2 separate regions of the Homo sapiens genome follow, and region 1 is linked to region 2. Evidence: promoter capture Hi-C in 16 types of primary human blood cells and fetal thymus (Javierre and others, 2016). All regions are on one chromosome and are shown on one strand. Each heading gives the region's core, a stretch centred on a gene start or on the middle of the fragment in contact. The rest is flanking DNA. Distances are from core to core; before and after follow the strand shown.

The links. Contacts are between HindIII fragments. The CHiCAGO score rates a contact against its expected background, and 5 or more counts as called.
Region 1: a contact is called between a fragment that was not itself captured here and the fragment with the promoter of ZNF485 in region 2, in 1 of 17 cell types (non-activated CD4 T cells). The highest score is 5.6, in non-activated CD4 T cells.

Annotation. Positions count from the first base shown.
Region 1 is chr10:42,547,242-42,553,546 of GRCh38, reverse strand. It overlaps the pseudogene ZNF37BP. Among named protein-coding and RNA genes, the nearest start is that of LINC00839, 75 kb to the right of the region's middle. RefSeq lists an enhancer at 1,403-1,941. The HindIII fragment of the contact is 3,766 bases long and covers 2,039-5,804 here.
Region 2 is chr10:43,602,300-43,608,385 of GRCh38, reverse strand. It overlaps ZNF485 (zinc finger protein 485), which reads right to left and starts at 1,948. Exons shown (of 5, transcript NM_145312.4): 1 at 1,840-1,948; 2 at 1,312-1,389. The coding sequence starts at 1,335. It also overlaps the pseudogene CAP1P2. RefSeq lists a silencer at 1,633-1,912 and an enhancer at 2,193-2,242. The HindIII fragment of the contact is 2,214 bases long and covers 222-2,435 here.

The sequences.
Region 1 (6,305 bases), core at 2,672-5,171, 1.1 Mb after region 2:
ATAGCTTAGCTCCCACTTATAAGTGAGAACGTACGTTTTTTAGTTATCCACTCCTGTGTTACCTCTGTCAGTGAACATTTTAAAAAGTTATTTTGATCAAGAGATCCAACATACTCCTGAAGAATGGAAAATGCAGGTTTGTCATAAAAGATGGTATTACGTGGTTTAACAAATAAAATTTGAAGAGCAATTCCGAGTTATCTTTACAACAGTGTACAGGCTGGTAATGCTCATGTCCAGCGTGTTTTCTCAGGGTGAGCGTCCAGTGGACCAGAACCAAGCAAGTGGAGCCACAGGCGCAAGTGGAGGTGGTGCCGCCGCGGCGCAGCGGGGCCACAGGAACCGACCGTGTCTGGAGAAATTCCACTCCTGAATTCTGCCAAACGAGGAAGTGTTGAGGACAGCCAAATCATCAGGGAGATGTAATTCATAAGAAACCTGTGTAATTTAAATACTCATAATTTATTTCAGCTAACGAATAAAATTGCAGTATTGCACTCGGTGCATCTGGGAACTAACTACCGAACGGCGCTGAAACCTCAGGCCGTTTCTAAAGGAGCGGCGCGAGGACTTCTGGGAAATGTAGTCTTCACTTTCTCAGGGAGCGGCGCGAGGGCTTGTGGGAAATGTAGCGTGTACTTTCTAAGGGAGCGGCGCGAGGACTTGTGGGAAATGTAGTGTGCACTTTTTGGCCCCGGTCGCGGGAGCCGCTTTGGGCTTTCTGCGCATGTGCGCGGTGTGGCTCCAGGTTTGTTTTTCTCCGGTACAGCCTGGTAGGGAGGGCTCCCGGCATCTCCCTGCTTCGGGGCAGAGGATGCCGGGGGTAGAGTACGGGAGGGCTGGAGCGAGGGTGGACTGGAGGTGCCGCTTGTCCTGGAGGTGGGAGAGAGGGAGCGGCTTTGCCGCCTGGCCTGCGTCCTAATCCTGTCCTGGTTCTTCTGCTCCCGAAGGGAACGTAGGTCCCGCGCCTGTGATAAGTAAGGTTGGATTTTCTCTTCCCTGAGGTGAAGGATGCCCGGAGGCCTCGGCAGGACCGTGCGGAAACGGGCCTTCTGCCCAAAAGATGCTGCTTCTCTCCTTATTCTTTCCCCTCAGAATCTCGCTGTCTCCTTCCAACCACCTGTGGTCGGCATCCCCGCGTTGTCACTGCGACGCAGAGGCGAGCGAGGTGGCGGGAAGCACCCGCGGGGCGGGGAGGGACCCTGCGGGCGCGGACTCCACACCAAGCCTCTGCTCAGCGTCACCCCGCTTGCTGTGTCCTCGCAGGTCGCAGCTTCATGGCCTGATGCCTTCAGGAAGTATTTTGAAGTCATCGTGGCTGTGGATTGGGGGATTTCTTGTTTCCACTGACCTGTGAGGCCGCGCACGTGGAGGGAGGCACCCCGGGTCCTCCGGCACTGTCCGGCCTCGCCTGTGTCCCTAGTAGCAGTGGGCATTTCCAGACGGTGCAGCTTGTGGCTAAAGTGACAGGAAGATGTAGGAGCTTTCAGTCTTGGATGAGGATTCGAACTGAAGGGCTTAGGCCCAGCTGTCTTGGAGCAAAACATCTGTTGTGGGGTGAGAAGGGAAAGGAGGGGTGAGGGTGCAGGGGCCCTCCTAGGAGGACATCGGACCTGTTGGGCCGAGACCTCATTAGAGATCTAGAGCACGGATGGGAGGAGCAGAGGCTCGATTTGTGTCCTGTTCAGACTCCCACAGGCTGGGTGATGGTGGGAGATTTGTGCCCATTCAGATGTGGCGGCAGAGGAGGGCAAGGCCGAAGGAGCAGACAGCACCGCTTCTTGGGGAGTTGTGAAGGCATCATGCGGAGGGCCGAGCTTAGCAGCCAAGTGGAGGACAGCACCCTCCATGCCTGGATTCGTTACTCGCTCGTTCTCGATGTTGAGCTGCTGGCATATTGCAGCACAACTAGAGATGTACGGATGCCCCCATCTTGATCTTACAGAATCAGAGGTGCAGCCGCAAGAAAGGTCTGTAAGTTATCTATTTCGGCTTTATTTAAAAGATGGGATGGGGTGGGGTGGACAGGAAACAAGCTTAACATGTTAAGTGACTGTTGACATTGACACATTTTGTTGTGGCAGAGTCAAGAACAGACACTGAGTCGCTTGAGGACTCAGGCAGGTGTTTGCTGCATTGACAACAGAGTAAGAAAAAATCCGTTTGCTTTTTAAAATCCAAAGATGGTTTTGAGAACCTGAAACCAAGTTAGAGCAAGTTCGTTTTCCTTCCAAAAAAACTGGGCTCTGCCGGGCGCAGTGGCTCACGCCTGTAATCACAGCACTTTGGGAGGCTGAGGCCGGCAGATCACGAGGTCAGGAGTTCGAGACCAGCCTGACCAACATGGTGAAACCCCGTCTTTACTAAAAATACAAAAAATTAGCCCGACGTGGTGGTGCGCACCTGTAGTCCCAGCTACTTGGGAGGCTGAGGCAGGAGAATCACCTGAACCCAGGAGGCAGAGGTTACAGTGAGCCAAGACTGTGCCATTGCACTCCAGCCTGGGTGACAGGGCAGGACTCTGTCTCAAAAAAGCAAACAAAAAAAAACTGGGCTGAAAAATACCACATCACTTTTTTCAAAACCTTGTTGGGATTCTCTGGTTTATAATAAAGATTAAAACCTGAATATTTTTGTTTAGCATCAGTTTTAATGAAAGTATTATGTTCCATTCTTTGGCTTTTCCTAACTTGCTTAATTAGTTTAATATATTGGTTTGCATACTCTGTTAGAGTACAGCATAAGTTGTTTATAAGTCAGTAGAAAACCAAACGTTTTCACATTTGAAAACTAATGTGTCCAAGCAGTACATAACCATGCCAGAGTCATGCATGGACGTGTGAGTATCTCCCTTTTAGAGATGTTTTGCCAGCTGGGAGGTGGACATTTTTAGGCAAGTGACATTTCTCATGTTCTTTTCTTGTTTGTAAGCTACACCCTCTCGGTTTTCTCTGCTCTGCCAACACTAGTGGAATATGATCACATCCCAGGTAAGTTGTTTATTTTTTCACAGTTTTGCTTAAAACTAATTATTGAGGTTTAAAAAATGTCTATACATTCATATGAAAGTAGAAATAACATCCTGGAAAATATAGAGGAGAGGTCACATTACAGTTCATGGGTCAAATGCAGCCTACTGTCTGTTTTTTTATGGTCCACAAATGAAGGATGGTTTTTATACTTTTAGGTGGCTGAGGGAAAAAAACCAAGAGTATTATTTTGCTTGGAAATTGTATGAAATTCAGACTTCATTGTCTATGAATTTTTATTGGGACTCAGCTATACTCATGTATTTATGTATTGCCTGTTGGTACTTTCACACTACAAAGGCAGAGTTGACTGGTTGCAGCAGAGACTGTAATGGCCTACAAGCCTAAAATATTTACTGTGTGACTCTTTACAGAAAATGTTTGCTGATTTCTGATAGAGAGTTGATGAAGAGTAAGACAAAAATGTCATATAGGTGAATGCAGATCTTGTGATCTTACAGTTGTGAAACTGGAACATAAAACAGTTTGTCGGTGGGCTTTATTAGGTGACATTGTGAAACTTCTGATGACAGTCTTGCAGGTACTTAAAAAAGTAGTACAACAAAGTGAGTAATTCATGTGCAGTCCAGGGGAAAACTTAACAGATAGCAAAAGAAAGTATATGATTAAAAAATTCAAATAGGCCGGGCACATTGGCTCACGCCTGTAATCCCAGCACTTTGGAAGGCTAAGGCGGGTGGATCATGAGGTCAGGAGTTCGAGACCAGCCTGACCAACATGGTGAAACCCTGTCTCTACTAAAATTACAAAAATTAGCTGGGCATGGTGGTGCGTGCCTGTAATCCCAGCTAGTCAGGAGGCTGAGGCAGGAGTATCACTTGAACCCAGGAGGTGGAGGTTGCAGTGAGCCGAGATTGTGCCACTGCGCTCCAGCCTGGGCAACAGAGTGAGACTCCGTCTCAGGAAAAAAAAAAAAAAAAAAAAAAATCCAATGAATTGTGTAGCATTAGGACTCATGGTTGTTTAAAGAAACAGTCCTGGTAGGCTAGGGTGATCATGGGTTGTTAGGATGTGGCAGGCTTTGTGACAGCCTTAGAGACTGGGCAGAACTGGAATATTTGCAATAACTTTCGAGGGATTCTACCTAAAAAAAAAATTGTGGTAAAACACACATCACATGAAATTCACAAGCCATTTTAAAGTATAGAATTCAGTGACTTTAGTACATTCACAATGTTGTACAACCATAACCACCATTTATTTCTGGAATATTTTCATCACACCAAAAGGAAACACATCACCCTTAATAAGCAGTATTGTAACTTAATAAGCAGTTGCTCCCTTTTCCCCGCTGTGCTCCCAGCCCCTAACAACCAATAATCTCCTTTCTGTCTTTATAGATTTGCCTATTTTGGATATGGCATATGAATGGAATCATACAATTTGTGTCTGATCTCTCACTTAGAATAATGTTTTCAAGACCCATTTATGTTGTAGTTGTATATCAGTACTTTGTCCCTTTTTATGACTGAACAATATTCTATTATATGGATATATCACCTTTTGTTTATCCATTCATCTGTTGATGGACATTGGGGGTCATCCTGTGTTTCGCTATTGTGGAGAGTGCTCCTATGAGCATTCATGTACAAATATTTGTTTGAATACATGCTTTCAATTGTTTTGGGTATATACGTACAAGTGAAATTGCTGGGTGATATGGTAATTTTACATTTAATTTATTGTGAAACCGACAGTTTTCCACAGCAGGGTGCTTTGCAATCCATAGGAATTTTTAGTTAGCTTTTCTATTTCTGCAAAAAAGTATGTTGAGTTTTTGATAAGTATTGGATTGGGTAAGTATTAGAGTGGGTGATAACACTTTGGGGAGTGTTATCTTAATATTAAATCTTATAATCAATGAACATAAGATTTTTTTTCCCTAGGTCTTCTTTCCTTCATTAATATTTTGTAGTTTTCAGTGTACAAGTGTTGCATATCCTTGCTTAAATTTATTAAATAGTTTTTCATTTAAATGCTATCGTAAATTATATGAAATTCAGACTTCAGTGTCTATAAAGTTTTATCGGGACTCAGCCATACTCATGTATTTATGTATAGCCTGTGAGTACTTTCACACTACGAGGGCAGAGTTGACTGGTTGCAGTAGAGACTGTGATGGCCCACAAGCCTAAAATTTCTTTTGTTTAAATGCTATTGTAAGTGGAATTGTTAATTTGCTTTTTGACTGCTCATTGTAATGAGTACACAAATAATTTTTGAGTGTTGATCTTGTATCTTGTAATTTTGCTGAATTTGTTTCCTACTTCTAGTAGTTTCTTTGTGGATTCTTTAGTATTTTCTGCATATAAGATCATGTCATCTGCAAACAAAACTATTTCATTTCTTTCTTTCTAATTTGGGTTTATTTATTTATTTACTTAGCCTAATTCCTCTGGCTGAAATTTTTAGTACAATGTTGAATATATGTGGCCAAAGCAGGCATCTTTATTTATTGTTAGTTTTTTGCTTTAGCAATCTTAACTATTTTTGGATGTACAGTTCAGAAGCAGTGTTAAGTATATTCATATTGTACATCTAATCACCAGAATTTTTTCATCTTGGGAAATTGAAATTCTCTACCCATTAAACAATAACTCCCCATTTTCCCCTCCTCCTTGCCCCTGGCAACCACCATCCTACTTTCTGTTTCTATGAGTTTCACTATTTTTGCTATATCTCATATAAGTGAAATCATACAGTATTTGTCTTATTGTGACTGGCTTATTTCACCTAGCGTAATGTCCTCAAGCTTCCTCAGTGTTGTAGCATGTGTCAGAATTTATCTCCTTTCTGATGTTGAATGATATTTCATTGTACCCATGTTTTGTTTATTCATTCATCTGTCAGTGGACATTTGGGTTCCTTCCTCCTTTTAACTGTTGTGAATAATGCTACTGTGAACATGGGGTACAACTATTCTTTGAGATCCTTCTTTCAGTTCTTTTGGTTATATACTCAGAAGTGGTATGGCTGGAACCTATGGTAATTCTATTTTTAATTCCTTGAGGAAACACCGACCTGTTTTCTACAGAAGGTGCACCATTTTACAGTCCCATCCTCAGTGTACAGGATTCTGATTTCTCCATATCCTTGCCAACACTCGTTATTTTCTTTTGTTGTTTTGATAGCAGCCATTGTAATGGGTGTATGGTAATTTTTCACTGTGGTTTTGATTTGTATTTCCCTAATGATCAGTGATGTTGAGCATATTTTCATAAGCTTGCTGACCATTTATATATCTTTAATGGAGAA
Region 2 (6,086 bases), core at 699-3,198:
TTCATGTCACCTCATCAAAAAGGTCTTCTATTTCTCCACCCCATCCTCTGCCACTCAGTCTCGAAACCCATTTCACTTTTCTTCACAGGATTTCTCACCACCTGGCAGGAGAGGTTTGCACTGACTGTCAGCATCCTCTCTAATGTGAGCTCCAGGGGGACAGTGTGGGTCACTGCTGCCTCCCAGTCAAAAACACTGCCTGACACAGAAGTGTTCAAGCTTTATTCAATCAACAAATGAATAGAAACTTTGAAAAGACATGGAAAGTGATTAGCTTTATCCGAGAATTTACAGGGAGTATGATCTGACTCTGGGGCAGAATATTTTTAAAAAAGAAAAAAAAATTGCTTTTCATAAGAGTAACAACTTACTATGTACCAGCCACGGTGCTAAACCCTGAGATACATATCATCTCTCTAAATTTCTGCCGTAACTATATAAAGTAAAATCTATTTCGTAGCTAAAGACACAAAGGTTCAGAGAGTTGGAAGAACTTGCTCAAGGTCCCAGGGCTGGTTGAAGGCACAGTATAAAAGGAAGCCACAAAAAGTGGTAATGAAACTAGAACAAATTGGAATGGCTATGAAATACTAAAAGAAAAAATGAGTAAGCCTTAAAAAAATGAAAAGTGTGTTTCAAATGAAATTACTTGACTTAGAGCAGTAGAAATGTAGGTGATCTTTAATTTTTTTAATTTTATTTGTATAATAGACACTCAAATGTTTATCACTTCCTTTCAAAATACCAATTATTTAATCAGCTTCTCAAAATCCTTCAAAACCTAGTTTTCTCCAGGATAAAAGCAAACTCCAGTCTGGGATTCTAGACCATGAATGTTTCCAACTTTCTCAGACCAGTTTGTTCATGGTCCCGCCATAATGACTTCATTCAGGCAGCGCTTTCCCCTAGTATCCTCTGCAATTATGCAAATCTCATTTATTCTTCAGGAAGAACTAAGGCGCCCACTACTCCACCCCTCCCACCCTACCACACACTAAAGGTCAAGAGAGCACTGCTATCACCCTATGTCTTTATGGCCTACGTCTTTACATGCTAACGTGTATTTTTTTCATCGTCTGCCAGTTTGCAAAGCACTTTTCTGTTTCTAGCACTCTAGAAAACATGGGTAGCAATAATCTACTTGGTGAATGACTACGTAATGGGTAGACAGGACGGAAATCGCGGGACCCATCCAGGATTGGTTCGGGTAGCTTTGTCCACACACAGGGCAGGGCATTGTCCGGGCAAGAGGCATAAACCCCACCTCGCTGAAACACGTGGTTTCTCAAGAAATGGAAAAATCAAACTTGCCTGGATCTGGGCTCTTGGGGCCATCTGTCTCCTGAACTGTTCTCCCAGGCAAGGGCTGAGAATCCTGCGTAAGTCAATCTGGGAAAGAAGAGAGGAAATTGAGGAAGTCCCTCCGTGCCCTAGCCTAGCTAGAATCTGCCCTCTAGACCAGGTCCCCGCCCGCCCGTTCCCTCCACAGGTGGGCAGACAGGTCCAGGTGGGTACGCTCGGGAAGAAAGGAAAGGGAACGGCTGCTGGGATCCGGCCTGGACTGCAGCCAGCTCCACGCCAAACACTTTTGGCAGCACCGGGGGACGGCCTTGTCAGTGGCCCAATCTGTCGGCCGGGGCGCAAGGCTGGAGCGCTCTGTGATGCACCAGCCTCGAGCGGTCGCTCCACACGGCGCAGCCACTGCGGGTGGGCACTGCCCACCGCCGCCTTCCCCTCCCACCCCGGCTCGCCCCTCGACCCGCCCCTGGGAAAGGCGGGGAGCACCCGCCAGGGGCTCGAGGCTTCAGGGACCCAGCCTGACCCCGGCCGCTCACGAACCGAACCGAGCCGGCAGGGCTGCGGAGCTGCACGCCCAGAGAGTCAGCGACCACACCACGCCGTTCGGACAGTAACCACCAGCCAGGGGCTGGTGCAGCGCTCGCACCACGCGGAGACAGGCTGGACCGGAAGCGGAAGTGGCTGAGGCCGCGGAGGCCTCTGGGAAACGTAGTCTGGGCCGCTTGGGGTCTTAGGGGCTCCATCCGCAGAGCAGGTTGGCATCACCTGGGAATCTTTGAAAAGTGAAGGTGCGGGAAGTGGAGAGCGGCTGATCGCAGTCGGGAGGTGATACATTATGACTGACATGCAAAATCTGGTAAAAAATTGGACAGGGCAGTGGGCCGCCTGGAGGCAGTATCCCATACCTCTGACATGCACCGTGGATATGGAGATAGTCCTTCAAAAGCAGGAGCAGCTCCATATGCGCAGGCATTTGACTCGCTGCTTGCCTGCCCTGTGGCAGAGTACTTGAAGATCAGTAAAGAGATTGGGGAAGACGTGCAGAAAGATGTGGAGATGGTACACACAGTTTTGAAGTTGGAGTGAGCTCTCTTGGTTACAGCTTCTCAGTGTCAATAGCCGGCAGGTAATAAGCTTTCCGATCTGTTGGCACCTATCTCAGAGCAGATCAAAGAAGTGATAACCTTTTGGGAGAAGAACCGAGGCAGCAAGTTGTTTAATCAGCTGTCAGCTGTCAGTGAAAGTATCCAGGCCCTAGGCTGGGTGGCTATGGCTCCCAATCCTGGCCCTTATGTGAAAGAAATGAATCATGCTGCTGTGTTTTATACAAACTGAGTCCTTAAAGAGTACAAAGATGTGGATAAGAAGCATGTAGACTGAGTCAAAGCTTATTTAAGTATATGCACAGAGCTGCAGGCTTACATTAAGGAGTTCCATACCACCGGACTGCCTGGAGCAAAACGGGGCCTGTGACAAAAGAACTGAGTGGACTGCCATCTGGACCCTCTGCTGGATCAGCTACTCCTCCCCCACCACCAGGCCCCCCTCCTCCACTAGTCTCTGTCAGTTCAGGCTCAGATGAGTCCGCTTCCCTCTCAGCACTGTTTGCGCAGATTAATCAGGGGGAGAGCATCACACATGCCCTGAAACGTGTATCTGATGACATGAAGACTCACAAGAACCCTACCCTGAAGGCTCAGAGTGGTCCAGTACGCAGTGGCCCCAAGCCATTCTCTGCACCTAAACCCCAAACCAGCCACAAAGAAGGAGCCAGCTGTACTTGAACTGGAGGGCAAGAAGTGGAGAGTGGAAAATCAGGAAAATGTTTCCAATCTGGTGATTGATGACACAGAGCTGAAACAGGCGGCTTACATATACAAGTGTGTCAACACGATGTTGCAAATCAAGGGCAAAATTAACTCCATTACAGTAGATAATTGTAAGAAACTTGGTCTGGTATTCGATGATATGGTGGGCATTGTGGAGATAATCAACAGTAGGGATGTCAAAGTTCAGGTGATGAGTAAAGTGCCAACCATTTCCATCAACAAAACAGATGGCTGCCATGCTTACCTGAGCAAGAATTCCCTGGATTGTGAAATAGCCAGTGCCAAATCTTCTGAGATGAATGTCCTCATTCCTACAGAAGGCGGTGACTTTAATGAATTCCCAGTTCCTGAGCAGTTCAAGACCCTCTGGAATGGGCAGAAGTTTGTCGCCACAGTGACAGAAATTGCTGGATAAGCGAAGTGCCACTGGGTTCTTTGCCCTCCCTTCACACCATGGGATAAATCTGTATCAAGACGGTTCTTTTCTAGATTTCCTCTACCTTTCTGCTCTTAAAACTGCTTCTCTGCTCTGAAAAGCACAGCTACCTGCCTTCACTGAAATATACCTCAGATGTGCAGTGGGATAGCAGGTCAGTTGATCTTCTGCAGGAAGGTGCAGCTTTTCCAAATCAGCTCAACTGCCGACGAGGACTAATGATGCATTTTAGCTTTGAGCTTTGGGGGTTATTCTACCAACAAACAGTCCACTGGGAAGAAAACAGTCCCAGGAATTAACAGATCAGAACGTTCACACTGGTTAATCTTTTTCTGACAATGAGCATGAAGGTAGCAGAAGCTGGTGTGTTTCCAGATGGTTCTTCTAACCAAACTAATTTTTCACTATTGACAAGTGAGGCAAGGATTGCACTGGACCAAAGGCTGAGGCTTGGCCATCTAGCATTCCACGCAAAATTGTTTCCTATAAGCATTCCTTTTATTCACTATTCTATCCTGGGTCTGCCTCAACCATGAGATAGGAGAGTCTCCGGTACTAGCTGCTGTAGCAGTGCCCTTCATCCAGGGCAGTTAAAGGAGTATTCAACCCTTTCTTTCTCTGGGATCCCTGCCCAGCACCTTCCTACAGAGATGAAAAAAAAAAAAAGGAAAAACAACACTCCATTCCAAGGAGTCTGGTATTCCTGAATCCTCCTTCCCTGCTAGGTGCCTGTCACCTGTCTTCACTGCCTCCTTTTCCCTGTCACACTCACCAGCTTATGGCTTCTGTCCAAGCACCTGAACAGGGGACCAAAACCTCCACTGCAAGCTGCTTTTAGGTCTTGATTTATGTAAGAATCTTGCACAGCACTGCTAATGTAAATTTCAGTTTTTTCCCTCTAGGACAAACACTTACCAAAATACGCAACTTTTTTGGTGGGAAGAGAGATTGTCCTGTGATTTCTACCCATTTCCTGATCCTGTGGAAATAAATCTTTATGTACTTAAAGTTATACAGAAAATAGAATGAAATAAATACCAAAAAAAAAAAAAAGCAAAGTGAAGGTACCTGGGTCCCAGCTTCAGAGATTCTGAATTAATTGCCCTAAGTGTGGTCCTGGCATTCGGATTTTTTAAAGCCCCCAAGTGGTTCTAATGTACTGCTTAGGTTGACATCTGCCACCAGAAACTGATACGGAAAGTATGAGAGACATATTTTATGTGCCTTTGGATAGCTATTTGTTTCCAAATAATCCTGTTTTTATTTCATACAAATAAAAAGCATGTTAGAAAAGTACATCACCTAGAACACTAAAAACATTATTTCCTCACTATTTGCTGACATAGAAAATGAAAGTAGGTTGAATCTGTTTTAACAAATGTATTATTTTCTAGGAAAAACATATGTTTCTATTTATTAACTCCAGGAATTGGAAAGCTAAGGGAGGAAAATGTATCTCTCTCATTCAATTAGGGCCTTTTTTTTTAAGAAAATTTCTCAGGATGGTGCATTCATTTACCAATTTACCAGTGATTGACCAAAGGCCCACTGCGTGCTACTCACTTCTGGATGCTAAGGATAGAACAGCTGACAAGCGTCCCTCCTAGACTAAAGTGGAGTCAGGCTCCTTTGCATCCTCCTTTCAACTATGCCTTGTCTTGGCCTGGTGAGCCGAGTTTTAGCCAAGAATCCTACAAAGCCACTTTATCAAGAATCATGGCCAGGCATGGTGGTTCACACCTGTAATCCTAGGACTTTGGGAGGCTGAGGCGGGCGGATTGCCTGAGCTCAGGAGTTCGAGACCAGCCTGGGCAACACAGTGAAACCCCGTCTCTACTAAAATACAAAAGAAATTAGCTAGGCGTGACAGCGTGCGCCTATAGTTCCAGCTACTCAGGAGGCTGAGACAGGAGAATTGCTGGAACCTGGGAGGTGGAGGTTGCAGTGAGCTGACATCGCGCCACTGCATTCCATCCTAGGTGACAGAGTGAGACTCTACAAAAAACAAAAGAATCACACTTTTTCCATCACACTTTTTCCATCCCACTTTTTCCAGCAAGGGCACCTAAGGACCAGTCTTTCCTTACTTTGGGGGCTGGATCCAGAATCTGCATTTATTTATATATGGCTACCATTTGCTGATTCCAGAGGACATGCAGAGCCTTTTACATACATCATTACACTGAGCTCTCACCACCAAAGAAGGTACAATTATTATTCTCATTTTGCAGATGAGGAAATTGGCTCAGAGAACGTAACTTGTCTTTGGTCCCTCACCTAGTAAATAGCAGAGCTGGGTACCAACAGTCATTGTTGGATCCCAAAGCAAAGTTGCCCCCATTGGCTTTCCATCATCCCTCGACTGTCTGAACTCCTTGCCTAACCTGCTGGGCCCTCCACCCTTTCCTGCCTGCTTTGCCATCCTCACCTCTCCCTCGGCCAGAGCTCATGTGGCTCTGCCCCAGCGGCTTCCTTAGCCCCTTGCTCACCAAGCTTCACACCACCTAGGGAGCTGGACCCAT